3 separate regions of the Homo sapiens genome follow, and regions 1 and 2 are each linked to region 3. Evidence: promoter capture Hi-C in human tissues and cell types (Jung and others, 2019). All regions are on one chromosome and are shown on one strand. Each heading gives the region's core, a stretch centred on a gene start or on the middle of the fragment in contact. The rest is flanking DNA. Distances are from core to core; before and after follow the strand shown. Region 1 overlaps CACNA1B (calcium voltage-gated channel subunit alpha1 B). Region 2 overlaps CACNA1B (calcium voltage-gated channel subunit alpha1 B). Region 3 holds the start of CACNA1B (calcium voltage-gated channel subunit alpha1 B).

What was found. The method cuts DNA at HindIII sites, captures the fragments that hold promoters and counts their contacts. A contact is called where the count stands out against the background at its distance.
Region 1: a contact is called between a fragment that was not itself captured here and the fragment with the promoter of CACNA1B in region 3, in 3 of the 25 tissues and cell types used here (dorsolateral prefrontal cortex, lymphoblastoid cells and stomach).
Region 2: a fragment that was not itself captured here is called in contact with the fragment with the promoter of CACNA1B in region 3 in 5 of the 25 tissues and cell types used here (dorsolateral prefrontal cortex, heart right ventricle, lymphoblastoid cells and 2 more).

What each region holds. Positions count from the first base shown.
Region 1 is chr9:137,930,984-137,935,518 of GRCh38, forward strand. All of the region lies in intron 6 of CACNA1B (calcium voltage-gated channel subunit alpha1 B), which reads left to right. Among named protein-coding and RNA genes, the nearest start is that of CACNA1B-AS1, 14 kb to the right of the region's middle. The HindIII fragment of the contact is 9,868 bases long and covers 1-4,535 here.
Region 2 is chr9:137,910,475-137,914,808 of GRCh38, forward strand. CACNA1B (calcium voltage-gated channel subunit alpha1 B) reads left to right here. Exons shown (of 47, transcript NM_000718.4): 4 at 2,706-2,797; 5 at 4,180-4,332. Among named protein-coding and RNA genes, the nearest start is that of CACNA1B-AS2, 20 kb to the left of the region's middle. The HindIII fragment of the contact is 6,756 bases long and covers 1-4,334 here.
Region 3 is chr9:137,876,356-137,880,950 of GRCh38, forward strand. CACNA1B (calcium voltage-gated channel subunit alpha1 B) reads left to right here and starts at 1,427. Exons shown (of 47, transcript NM_000718.4): 1 at 1,427-1,862; 2 at 2,699-2,804. The coding sequence starts at 1,579. All of the region lies in intron 2 of CACNA1B-AS2 (CACNA1B antisense RNA 2), which reads right to left. RefSeq lists an enhancer at 1,620-2,535. The HindIII fragment of the contact is 23,600 bases long and covers 1-4,595 here.

The sequences.
Region 1 (4,535 bases), core at 491-2,990, 55 kb after region 3:
CCAGGATGGAGTTTAGTGGTGTGATGGTGTGCAATCTCAGCTCATTGCAGCCTCACCCTTCCACACTGAAGGAATCTTCTACATTAGATGGTATTATCTGGGGAGGGTCTTGACTACGAGTTGTCCAGGTTCTTGGCGGTTTGAACAAAGAATTGCACAAGATGCACAAAGCAACAAAGGAATGAAGAAATGAAGAAATGAAAGCACAGATTTATTGAAACAAAAGTACATTCCATAGTGTGGGATCGGGCTCGCGTAAACGGCTCAAGAGCCCTGGTTACAGAATTTTCTGGAGTTTAAATACTCTCTAGAGGTTTCCCATTGGTTAGCTGCTTACACCCTGTGTAAATGAAGACCAGGCCCTCTACCATTCTGATTGGTCATGGGAGGCGACCAATCAGGTACTTTCCATTTTTCGTCTGCGATACAGTGGAATGGGGGGCGTTGCAAAGGGAGTAGCCTCTTCTTTTGTTACTTGGATGTGGAGAGGTGGAGTTTTCCTTTTGATTTAGTTCTAGGAAGTCAGCACAAATCGGCCTTAGGTTCCTTGCCTCCAGACCCTATTCTCCTGCCTCATTTCCCCCGAGATGTGATCCCCATCATCTTTATAGGAGGCCGAGGGACTGATGGTTTTTTCTTCAGTAACTGCTTCATGCTGATTTGGGCACAGTTCCTACCTATTGGGGATCATGGAACTCTCACCCTGCTCTGTCTAGTGGAGACATGGTAGTTGCTGGATGGCCAGGGGTGGTGTCTTTACCTGGAACTGGCTGGAAACCTTGTCTCATGATCATCTGAAGCTTGATGGTCTCTGGGCGAGAGGAAATGAATTTGTTTAAGAGATTTAATGAACATGGTCCAAAAACCAAGGCAAATATAGTCATTAGTGATGGGCCGGCTAGAGGAAGGAGCCATGCACCTCAACTTAGCATTTCTGACCAGGAGCCCCATGACTCAGACAGCTGTTGTCGTATCTTAGGGGCCCAGTCAGCTAATTTCCAGGCGGCATCCCTTACTAATCCTGATTAGTTGACATAAAAACAGCATTTTTCCTCTAGAAAAAGACATAAGCCACCTTTTTAAGCAGTTAGGAGATCCAGTCCCCTTCAATTCTGTAAAGTGACTGCTGCCAAGGAGTCTGTCTGATTTTGTATGGCGACGATACTTTGGGCAGTGTCTTCTGAGCTTTCCATAAAATCTCTGGACAAGTTAGTGATAGGATAGGGAGATTGCAAGCCTGCTAACTCCCGTTTCTACTCTTGCTGTTCTTCCTAACCCAACCAAAAGGGGTGTGAGTTGGATGGCTCATTTGTGTCTGGTGGTTGCAGTTAAAGGTATAGTGAAGAATTGGTTGTTGGGAGCTACATTAATTTTGGGAGCTAAATAACAAGTTACAGGTTCCAGTCCAGTTGGCTGGTAAATCTAAGTAGGAACTGGTCCCGCACGGGAAAAAGGCTCCTTGTTTTTCAAGACAGAACTTGTTTTCTATGGTGAACACATGGGCTAGCTTGTTGTTTTCACTTTCCCATATGGTTGAGGTCTTTGCTAAGGTGGCCCTGGTTAAAGGCTGGAAAGGATCTTGGGAAGTATCTTGAGTTGCCCCAGCAGTTCTCTTTTCCCAGTGGAGGTAGTTAGGCTTAGTGTCCAGTAACAATCACCCAGAGGTATTTTCATACTGGGGAACCAAAAGGCAACTAGACGTCTCAGGATTAGTACATTCTTCACAAGGGAAACCGTGAATGCAGCTAGTGGGCCTGCCTCGACCATACTTAGGCTGTCCATCCTTTAAAGCCCTTAACCAGGGATGGTTTCCATGAAAACCGTACAGGTTATCTAAATGATGCGGTTTGGGTAACTGTATAGCTTACGTAATCGAGTGAAGGATTAACTTCCAGGGTGTAGTTGCATTGATGACTTTATTTTATCTTTACTTTTATTTATTTATTTATTTATTTATTATATTTTTTGAGATGGAGTCTCTCTCTGTCGCCTAGGCTGGAGTGCAATGGTGCGATCTCAGCTCACTGCAACCTCCACCTCCCAGGTTCGAGCGATTCTTCTGCCTCAGCCTCCTGAGTAGCTGGGACTACAGGCGCGTGCCACCACGCCCGGCTAGTTTTTTGTATTTTTAGTAGAAATGGGGTTTCACTGTGTTAGCCAGAATGGTCTCAAATCTTCTGACCTCATGATCTGCCTGCCTCGGCCTCCCAGAGTGCTGGGATTACAGGTGTGAGTTTTTTGTATTTTTAGTAGAAATGGGGTTTCACTGTGTTAGCCAGAGTGGTCTCAAATCTCCTGACCTCATGATCTGCCCGCCTTGGCCTCCCAAAGTGCTGAGATTACAGGTGTGAGTCACCGCGTCCGGCACATTGATGACTTTTCAAGGTTCCAAGGACCGGACCAGAATTTTCGCTTCTGTTAATACAAAGTGGCACCTGCAATTTTAGCTCTGTGTACATTTATATTGGGCCCCAAATTGGTTTCTGAGGGGATGCAACTCCAGAAAGGTTGCTCAGATGGGATTGGAGTAGGTTTACTGCTTATCCTGTCATTGTAACCCTTGTCATTTCCATGATTTTGAATTCATGTATGTCATCCAGGCTCATTAGTTTGAAGAGAGTTCCTCCTTTGTAGTTAGGGTGATAGGTCATTTCCTTAAGGGCCCAAGATTGGGCTGGGATCAGGATGGCAGTATATTTAGATGATGATGGAGATAAACAAAACCAACAGTCCTTTGCCAGGGCTGGGCTGGTGGTATTTAAGTCTTTGTGTTAAATTTAAAGTTCTTAATAAATACCCAGAATCCACTAATTGCTGGAGGGGTAAAGGGAAGCTCTGTTGTGAAATAAAGCTGATTGCTAGTAAGACATGGTTCCTGTATACACAGGCTGTGGGTGACCATTATGGAACAAAAAAAAAATTACTTATTTGTTATTTTGTCCTATAGAATGGGAACTTCAGGGGGTGGATACCTATGCTGTCAGGAATGCTTGTTATAAAAATGAATTGAAACACTTTGGTTAATTATTACAAAGGAAGTGATTCCATCCATTTTGAATAAAACAAATTGTAAAAATATAAAAAATAGCTACCAATATCCAGCTTACGATAAGTATGCAACAAAGACACCAAGGAAAGTTGGTAGGCATTTACTTATTTTTCGGCTGTCTTTTAAACAGGTACTTCACTGTTCCCACAGGTTCACAGGTGTAGTGGCTGATAGGAGCTTCAGGTTCCAGGTCCAGGGCTTCAGTTATTGCAGGCTTGACCCTGGAAAGATGGATCCAACTACCTAATCCTAGTACTTTGACCACAGAAGGCTTGTCCAGCACCACTGAAAATGGTCCCTTCCATTTGGGTTGCAATAGTTGAGCAGGTGATCCCTCTTTCCATGTTTTAACAAGTACCTGATTTCTCATTTTGGAGATCATGGCAGACGGGAGGCAGGACTAGATTGCAGTTCCCACTCGGATGGCCAGAGCAGCCTGTGGAGGATTGTATCGTGAACTTTTGCTCCAGAATGACTGCAGAAATAAATCAGGAAAGCCGAGAGAACCCATAGACCCTCTGAAGGAAGCGGATTGCTCCAGCAGGACCTGGGAGATACCCAAAATACTGTGCTGGTATCCACAGCTGAGAGACCCACAGACAGTTCATATCACAGGACTCTGTGCAGACAACCCCTAGTACCAGCCCAGAACCCGGTAGACTTGCTGGATGGCTAGATCCAGAAGAGAGACAACAATCACTATAGCTCAGCTCTCAGGAAGCCACAGCTCTAGGAAAATGGGGAGAGTACTACCTACATCAAGGGACCACCCCATGGGACAAAAGAATCTGAACAACAGCCTTGAGCCCTAGACCTTCCCTCTGACAGAGCCTACCAAAATGAGAAGGAACCAGAAAACCAACTCTGACAATATGACAAAACAAGGTTCCTTAACACCCCGAAGAAATCACACTAGCTCACTAGCAATGGGTCCAAACCAAGAAGAAATCCCGGATTTACCTGAAAAAGAATTCAGAAGATTAGTTATTAAGCTAATCAGAAGGCACCAGAGAAAGGCAAAGCCCAATTTAAGGAAGTCAAAAAATGATACGAGAAATGAGGGGATAAATTTTCTTTTTTTTCATTATACTTTAAGTTCTAGGGTACATGTGCACAACGTGCAGATTTGTTGCATATGTATACCTGTGGCATGTTGGTTTGCTGCACTCGTTAACTCATCATTTACATTACATATTTCTCCTAATGCTATGCCTCCCCCATACCCCCCACCCCATGACAGGCTCCGGCGTGTGATGTTCCCTGCCCTGTGTCCAAGTGTTCTCATTGTTCAATTCCCACCTGTGAGTGAGAACATGCGGTGTTTGGTTTTCTGTCCTTGCGATAGTTTGCTCAGAATGATGGTTTCCAGCTTCATCCATGTCCCTACAAAGGACATGAAATCATCCTTTTTTATGGCTGCATAGTATTCCATGGTGTATATGTGCCACATTTTTCTAATCCAGTCTATCATTGATGGACATTTGGG
Region 2 (4,334 bases), core at 942-3,441, 35 kb after region 3:
TACATTTATTGTGCACTTTGTTTCTATTATTGTTACATTGTGATATATAATGAAATAATTATACAACTCACCATAATATAGAGTCAGTGGGAGCCCTGAGATTGTTGTCCTGCAACTAGACGGTCCCATCTGGGGGTGATGGGTCAGTGACAGATCATCAGGCATAAGATTCTCATAAGGAGCGTGCAACCTAGATCCCTCACATGTGCAGTTCACAGTAGGATTCATGCTCCTATGAGAATCTAATACCACCGCCGATCTGACAGGAGGCGGAGCTCAGGCAGTAATGCTCGTTCGCCTGCCGCCACCTCCTGCAGAGTGGCCTGATTCCTAACAGGCCACAGAACAGTACTGGTCTGTGGCCTGAGGGTTGGGGACCCTTGCTCTGATGCACGGAACTTTTTACTTTTGATGAAGTTCAATCTAATCTATTTTTTCTTTTATTGCCTGTGCTCTTGGTGTCATATCCGAGAAATTATTGCCAAATCCAATGTTATGAATATTTTCCCCTATGTTTCTTCTAAGAGTTTTCTAGTCTTAGCTCTTATATTTAGATCTTTGATCCATTTTGAGTTACTTTCTGTATTTGGTGTAAGGTAAGGGTCCAACTTTATTCTGCTTGGTTGTTGAAAAGATCATTCTTTCTCCACTTAATGGTCTTGGTACCTTTGTTGAAAACCAGTTGACATATATGTGGGGGTTTATTTCTGGGTTATTATTCTATTCCGTTGATCTAGCTAGTTTTAAATTTTCTACCTTTTCTACCTGTTTTTGTTTAATAGTTTACTGTTTTTATCTGAACAAAATTCCTCTTTCAATAGTTGATCCTGCTGAATGTCTTCCCGTAGCATTGGGCTTCCTCAGGTAACCTGGCATTTTGGTTTGAATAGAAGGGTTTTTATTGTCCTTTTTTTCTTTTTTTATTTTGAGATATTTATCTTTTCTTTATTTATTTATTCGAGTCGGAGTCTCGCTCTGTAGCCCAGACTGGAGTGCAATGGCGCAATCTCGGCTCACTGCAACCTCTGCCTCCTGGGCTCAAGCAGTTCTCCTGCCTCAGCCTCCCGAGTAGCTGGAATTACAGGCATGCGCTACTGCGCCCAGCTAGTTTTTGTATTTTTTTTTGTAGAGACGGGGTTTCACCATGTTGGTCAGGCTGGTCTCGAACTCCTGACCTCAGGGGATCCACCTGCCTTGGCCTCCCAAAGTACTGGGATTACAGGCGTGAACCACTGTGCCCGGCCGATATTTATCCTATTTTTGACCCCCAGTTCTGTCTCAGATTTTGTCTGTTACGGCTATGTGTTTGGAGCGGGTGATCACAAAGCCTTCGCCAAGAACCCTGGATGCGCGTTAGAGGCAGAGCCAGCAGGATTGTTGGTGACCCGGACGTGGCATATGAGAGAAGGACCGGAGTCAGGGATGAAGTTTCAGGTTTGGTTTAAACAATAGGTGACTGGTGCGATCCGCTGAGGGGAACAAAGGGGGAAGGAGCAGGACTGGAAGTAAGAATAGAAAGTTTCTTAGTCACTGTGATGTAACAACTCTGAACTTTAGAAAAAAGGTACATCTTTTATACTTGTGTTAAAGTGAAAAAAATAATTCTTTAGTTGTGTAATGTTTCATATGCTTTTTAAAATACCCATATGGAACTGTTAAAAAGGCAGTTGTATATATGAGCCTAGAGCTCCAGGTCTGGATTAAAGATACACACTTGGGAATAACGGACATGCGTGATACTCAAAGCTATTGGGTAGCTCCTACATGGAATGAGCCTTGGGGCACCCTCGTTTTGAATCTCTGGCAGAGAAGGCAAAGCTGGCAAAAGAAACTAAGAAGGAGCCCCCAGGGAGTGGGAGGAAAACAGGAGAGAGTTGGCCTAAGGCAAGAGACCACACCCTTTAAAGGAGACTTGACCGTTAGAATTGGCAAGAGGAAGGCTTGAGGTAGCATTTCAGTGGAGAGGTGGGTGAGAACCTGGCTGGAGAAAGCTAATGAGAGAGCTCAAGATAAGGAAGTGGTGAGACCGAGGATTGACACCATCCGTGAGTTCTGATGGGAAGGGAACAGAGAAATGCTCTGTGGTAGAAGGCAGATATGGGATCTTTAGTTTTGTTCTTAAGATGGGAGATACTGGGATATGTTTTTTTGCTAATAGAACTGACCACAGTGTCTTCCTCATTCCACCTTTCCAATACCCCACTTCCCTGTCTTCCTGAGATAAGGGAAAGAATGGTGGTATATGGGGGTCGGTTCAGGAGTCCCTCAGGCTCCATCCTGCTCCTGCTCTCAGTCTCCACTCCTCTCAGAAGGCAGCTTGAAGTGCAGCTGGGGTTGGTTAGGGGATATGGGTCAGCCTTAAACTCAATTGGTAGACAGATTTCCTGCCATGCCAGGGGCCAAGTGTCTATTCAGAGATGGTGCCTTTGAACTGGAGGTTTGGTCATGTGGGTGATTGTGAACATTCCTGTGAGCGCTTCTGGATTCAGTTCCTGCCTCCTCTCACCTGGCAAGCCGCTCTGTGCTGGCCCTGTGGTTGGACAGTGGGGGGACACAGGTGCTGGCCCTGTGGTTGGACAGTGGGGACACAGGAATGAAGGTGTCACTGCTCTTGGGAGACATGACCCTGGTGGTGGGAGGAGTGTGTCCTCTTCCAGGCTCAATGTGGAAACCTTTACTTCCCTTCTTCTCCTTGTTTCTGCCAGGATCCTTGCCACGGCTGGAACTGACTTCGACCTGCGAACACTGAGGGCTGTGCGTGTGCTGAGGCCCCTGAAGCTGGTGTCTGGGATTCCAAGTGAGTCCAGCGAAGACAGGCCCAAGCCGGCTTGGAGTAACAACCTCCTCTCCTACCCTCACCACGGACATGGCCATGGCCATGGTTTGGCTTTGGTGACTCTGAGCTTGCCACTTTTGACCCCAGGGAACCAGGCAGGAGGAAGGGAGGAGCAGGCCTTTTTTGGCCTGTCACACCCTCCATGAAAGCCCACAGGGTGATGCTGTTATTTTACCCTGACCTGGCTTCCCTAGATGGAAGCTTTGTTCCTCCTCACATACTCTGTCACATTTCAGCATTTTGCTTCTTTTTCTGAGGGTAAAGAATGGATGAGAGGTTGACCAAGGTGGTGGGGAAGGATGCCTGAGAAAATGTGCAAAAGCTGCAAAGGGCCACTTGTCTCTTGGCTCAGTCTTGTCAGGGCCACTGGGGACTGAGGCCAGCCTTAAGACATGCTCCTGAAGTGGGCTGCCCACAGAGCCTGCCATGAGCAGGAGGATGGCCAGGGTGACCTCATGAGCCAGTGACCACCTGGACCCCTATTCCTTCAGCCCAGTGGAAGTCTGGTTTTAGGTTTACCTAAGGGCCTGAGTGGACATGGAACTAGAGCTGTGTCCTCCTGAGGCCACTGAGGGAAGACCCGTGATTGGCTCCCTGTTCTACCCTGAGACCTTGCCAGGCAATGGTTCTGGCCCATATCCAAGTGCTGGGGCCAGACTCGAAGGGGAGGGGTCAAGGTTTACAGGCTCCTCTGCCCAGTTCCTCACATGCTGTATGGCCAGTGGCAGAACATTCCCAGGGGCAGGTCTTTTTTGCCTCACTTTCTCCCAAGGAGTTGGGTCTGTTAGGAATACCTGTACTTCTCCCCCAGGATCCCCTGCTCTTCCCTCCCAGGGTCCCCTCCTCTTAGCTCCCAGCATTCTCTGCTCCTTCCTCCCAGGATCCCCTGCCCTTAGCTCCCAGCATTCTCTGCTCTTCCCTCCTAGAATTCCCTGTTCTTTCCTCTCAGGATGTCCTCTGACTTGGCTCTTCCTTCTCAGGATTTCATTCTCTTTCCTCTCAGGATTCTCTGTTGCCCCACCCTGAGCCCCACTCCCCACCCCAGACTTCATACCCTGACACCCCCACATCCCACTCCTCTGCCTACTTTGAGACACTTCTCAGTCGACTTCTCTCTAGGACCTTATGCTTTGTCCCTAGGACTCTCAGCTCTGCCCTACACAAGCACTCTCTGCCCCTCTGCGCCTTAAGGGGCTTCAGCTCTATCCTTTGCCCTTGCAAGCACTCACTGCTTAGCACCTTGCTGTCCCTGCTAGGTTCCTGCTGTTCTGTCCCTGCCCCCACCAAATTCCTTGCCCTACCCTGCCCACGTTGCTTCCTGACCTGCCCTGTTCTGGCCCCAGGTTTGCAGGTGGTGCTCAAGTCCATCATGAAGGCCATGGTTCCACTCCTGCAGATTGGGCTGCTTCTCTTCTTTGCCATCCTCATGTTTGCCATCATTGGCCTGGAGTTCTACATGGGCAAGTTCCACAAGGCCTGTTTCCCCAACAGCACAGGT
Region 3 (4,595 bases), core at 177-2,676:
GCGAACCCTGATTTTGTTTGGGGCAACTATGTGCTCGCCTAGTGGGGGCTGGCCATCCTGGTCCACTTTGACACATGTTCACTTTCCCACCCTGTTAAAGTCAGGGCCGGCCACATGGCCCATGGCCTAACGGGGTTAAAGAGACACTTGCAGGGGGAGCCTCTGAGAAGCTTTTCCTTTGTTAGAAAAGAAAATCGTAACCTGATTCACAAAGTGGTCATCCTTTGTACACCTGCCACTTCCTTCCCGTTTGAGATGCTGGTGTAGCGGTGTGATGCCCTGTGCTATGACAGCCACCCTGGGGCATGAGGCAACAGGCAGGAAGGCAGAAAGTGTATGTGGGGATTTTGGAGGGAGGAGAGATGGTGGCTTCGTATTCAGTGAGATCACAATGGCATCGTGCAAGCTGCTGCTAGCTGGGAAGCGGGTTGTTCGCCTCTGAATGCATCCTAAGTGATTCAGCACCCCAGCCTCCTGCAGTCCACACTCCACACGGCAGCCCGAGGGACCCTTCAGAGGCCTACGCGCCTCTGCTCGGAACTGTGCGGACTGCCTCCCTCTCAGAAGGCGCAGCCCGCACCCGGCCTCACTCTGCACTCAGCGCCTTGCGAGCGAGCTTCAGGTCCGAGAGGGTCCCTTGTTCCCGAAGGTCTCCCCGACCCCGGGGCCGCCTTTTTGGAGGTTGTGAGGACCCACGGGCCTGCACGAAGTGAGCGCTGTGTAAATGGTTGCTGTGCTTTGTACAAAACGGTCAGCTCCGTGAGGGCAGAGCTGGGAGCCCAGGACAGGCCCGGCCCGCGGTGGGCGCTCAAGGAGGCCTGGGGAATGGCAGTGACCGTGACAGGTTCCCTAACGGGGCGTGGCCTGCAAGGCGGTCAGAGGCTTCTCTGAGCTGAGATCCCGGAGCCAGCCCCGTGCGTGGAAACAGCAGGTCCCGCACCCGGGCTGGGGGCCCCCGACAGAAGCGTCCGCGTGGCACCAAGGCCGCGAGCCGAGCGCACCCGGAGGGTTGGGAAGGCCGGGGACCCGGCGGGGACGGGGCGGGCCGGCCCAGGCCTGGCGCCCAGCTCTGGGCTGCAGCCCCAGGGCTGGTGGCGCCTCCGGGCGGAGCGAGGGGTCCGTCTGGGCCGAGTTTGAGGAGCCGAGGGCACCCAGGGGCGGTGCGGCCGGCAGAGTGGGCTCCGGGGACGGCCCGGGCTGGCGCTGAGCGGCCGTCGAGGACCCACAGGCTCGTCCGCTCCTGGGCCCGGCCCAGCCCCGGGGTGGGAGGCGCGGGGCGAGGGAGGCGCAGCCGGAGGGGCCGGGGCGGGGCGGGGGCGGCCGCGGGGCGGGGCCGGCGCGGCAGGGTGGGCGGGGCCGGCGCGGATTGGCCGGGCCCCGCCACGTGACCGGCCCCTTATAGGGCGTGGCGCGGGGCCGCGGAGTCGGGTGAGGCGGCGGCGGCTGCGGCGGTGGGGCCGGGCGAGGTCCGCTGCGGTCCCGGCGGCTCCGTGGCTGCTCCGCTCTGAGCGCCTGGCGCGCCCCGCGCCCTCCCTGCCGGGGCCGCTGGGCCGGGGATGCACGCGGGGCCCGGGAGCCATGGTCCGCTTCGGGGACGAGCTGGGCGGCCGCTATGGGGGCCCCGGCGGCGGAGAGCGGGCCCGGGGCGGCGGGGCCGGCGGGGCGGGGGGCCCGGGTCCCGGGGGGCTGCAGCCCGGCCAGCGGGTCCTCTACAAGCAATCGATCGCGCAGCGCGCGCGGACCATGGCGCTGTACAACCCCATCCCGGTCAAGCAGAACTGCTTCACCGTCAACCGCTCGCTCTTCGTCTTCAGCGAGGACAACGTCGTCCGCAAATACGCGAAGCGCATCACCGAGTGGCCATATCCTGCCGGGCGGGGCCGGGCGGGGCCGGGCGGGGACCGGGGTGGGGGCCGGGGCCGGGGCCATCTTCCCGGTGGCCGGGAGGGCGCGACCTGGGGAGGCGTCGGGAGACGGGCGAGGGGGGTACGGAGCGCCCCAGGGCCCCTCGGAGCGGCGGGTGCGGGAGCATTTCCGTGAGTGCGGCGGGCGCGGGGCGGAGCCCCTCTGCTCCGGACTCGTCCCTCCGCACGCCGGGTCCTGGGGATCCTGGTCGGTGCACAGTGCGCGGCTAGCCTGGAGGGCACCGAGGGCGAAGCCGCGTCCGTGCAGGTGCGAGCGCTGTGGGGACGCGGCCGTGCGCGCGCCTGGCTGCAGGTGCCTGCGTGTGCGGGCTGAGCTGGAGCCTGGCGCTGCGCGTGCGTGCGCTCGCGATGCGGGCTACATGCATGTTCACGTGCCTGTGTAGGTACATGTGGCTGCGTGTCTGGAGGGAGCAGCGTGCGCCTGCGCGGGGTCTCCCTCCAGCCTCGCCTGGGGGCGCTCGGCCCCCTCCCCTCGGGGCCCTGGAGTCGGGCGGAGCCGGGCCGGAGGCGCTGTCCGCGGTGCTGACGGCCGCCCGGGTGTGCCGAGGGGCTGGCGGCCCAGACTGCGGAGGCCCCGCCTCGCGGCCGCCCCTAGGGATGGGGGCAGGGAGTGAGGGAGACCAGGCCGCTTCCGCCAGGAGAGGGGCTCCGGACCCAGTTGTCTCAGCCCCTCCGGAGACGGCCTAGCGGTGGCTGCTGCACTGGGCTCTGCTGGCGTCGGCCTCGTGTTTCCCTCCGTGCGGCGTCTGCCGGCCAGTCCTTAACTCACGCACTCCATTCGAGTATATGATCCTGGCCACCATCATCGCCAACTGCATCGTGCTGGCCCTGGAGCAGCACCTCCCTGATGGGGACAAAACGCCCATGTCCGAGCGGCTGGTGAGTGCCCGGCTGGGCCTGAGGGCAGGGTGGTGGGGAGGCCGCGACTCCACTTTCCTTTATGGTCTGTGCCTGAGAACAGCTTCCTCGGGCAGGGTCGTCTGGGCAGTGCCCCTCGCGTCTGAAGGAAAAGGTAGGCCTGGCAGATAACACCTTCCTCGAGGGCCAGGGCAGCTGGGGTCACCGGCTTAGCCCTGGGCGTGGCCACGTTAGCCCTGGGCCAGTCTGCCCTGTGCCACGAGCTACTCCTGCACCTCAATGGCTGTCCTGGCTTTCGGCGCTAGACTTTGATCCAGAAAACCATGTTCTAAACTTGGGGTGGGGAAGGGGCATTCATGTCTTCGGGAAGGTCAGCTCTGAATGCCATGTGTGCCCTGCTGGGCTGAGATGGGCTTTGGCCTGGATGTGGGAACCCTGAGCCTCATCCTCCAAGTTGTCTTGTGCGGGCCTGCTTGGAACCTCTTCTCCAGTGGGCCTCACCATCCTGTGGGAAGCATTCCTTCTCAAACATTCTGAATCATTTTTACCTGTCCCCAGATTCCAGCCAAGAGGCCCCCGTGGTAGCCCCCATTGGAGCATAGAGTCTGTGTGAGTCAGGGTGCCAGGGCAAGGTCTCCGTGGCTCAACAGGAGGCAAGGTGGAAGGCCAGCCCTGTGGGGTCTCTGGAGGGGCTGGGTCAGAGGAAGGGCAGCATTTTGGAGGTGAGCAGTTTCTGAGGTCAGAGCATGTCCCCCAGCCCCCACTCTTCCCTGATGCCTGGCCCCATGTCTGGGTTCCGAGTGTGCCTAAAGACTGGAGCCTCCAGGTGAGCAGAAGGCAGAGCAAGTGGGGGCCCAGGGGGTGCGGGGCCAGAGGCGTCCAGGAGACGGCCTCTCTGGGGTGTCAGGAGCTGCTCCCTCTTCCCTTAAGCCTGGCTTCCGCCCCCACTAGCATCCTGAGACAAGAGCTATTCAGACTTTAGCCCTGAAACTGAACTCCCTTTGAACCTGGGCCACCGCAGGCCCAGGAGTGCAGAAGGGGAGACAGGGAGCCTGTCCTGGAGGTGAGGCACCAGGAGGTGAGTTATGGGTGGCCGAGGTGAGGAGGTCTTAATGGAGCACAGTCTGGAATGCCCAGTGGTCTGGGTTACGGCCGGGTGAGGAGGAGGAGCATGGACAGCCCAGCCACACCATGAGGCAGGCGTGAGTCATGGTCCCTGTGGGGGACTTGGGCAGGACCCTGGTGGGGCCCATTGCTTTCTGGAGGCTGGAGAAGAGGGTGAGCTTGAGAGGAAACAGGCAGAGAGCCTTGAATGCCAAGTCACAGGAAGGAGGGCAGGGCCAGGGTCAGAGGGACGCAGGCCCAGGAGCCAGGCCGGGGCGGGGGCAGGGAGGATCAAGCTGTCTTGCCCTGCCAGGCAGTGGGTGTCCAGCCTTGCAAGTTCCTGCCTCGCAGGTGTGGGAGGGTTTACTTTGTGGTCATAGGTTGGGGAGGACACTTCTAGGAGTGGCGAGCTAACCTGTTGGGAAAACTGCAGAACATGCCCGCCCTGAGCCAGCCTAGAGGTCTGGGGAGCTCTTGACCAGTCCCAGTCCCATGTGCAGGCCCAGCCATTGATGTCCCCTGGGATGGAGGGGAGGCTGTGCTGCTGCCCACAGAGCAGGCCGAGGCTGGGTGGTGCAGGGGCAGCCCCTCAGTTGTCTCCCAGCCTGGCCCTGGGCGAGGCCTCCCTGGTTCCCTGCCTCTCGGGGCTGTTTCCCACCTCCCCGTCGACTCTGGAGCTACCTCGAGCCAGGCCCCAGCTTGCAGTGC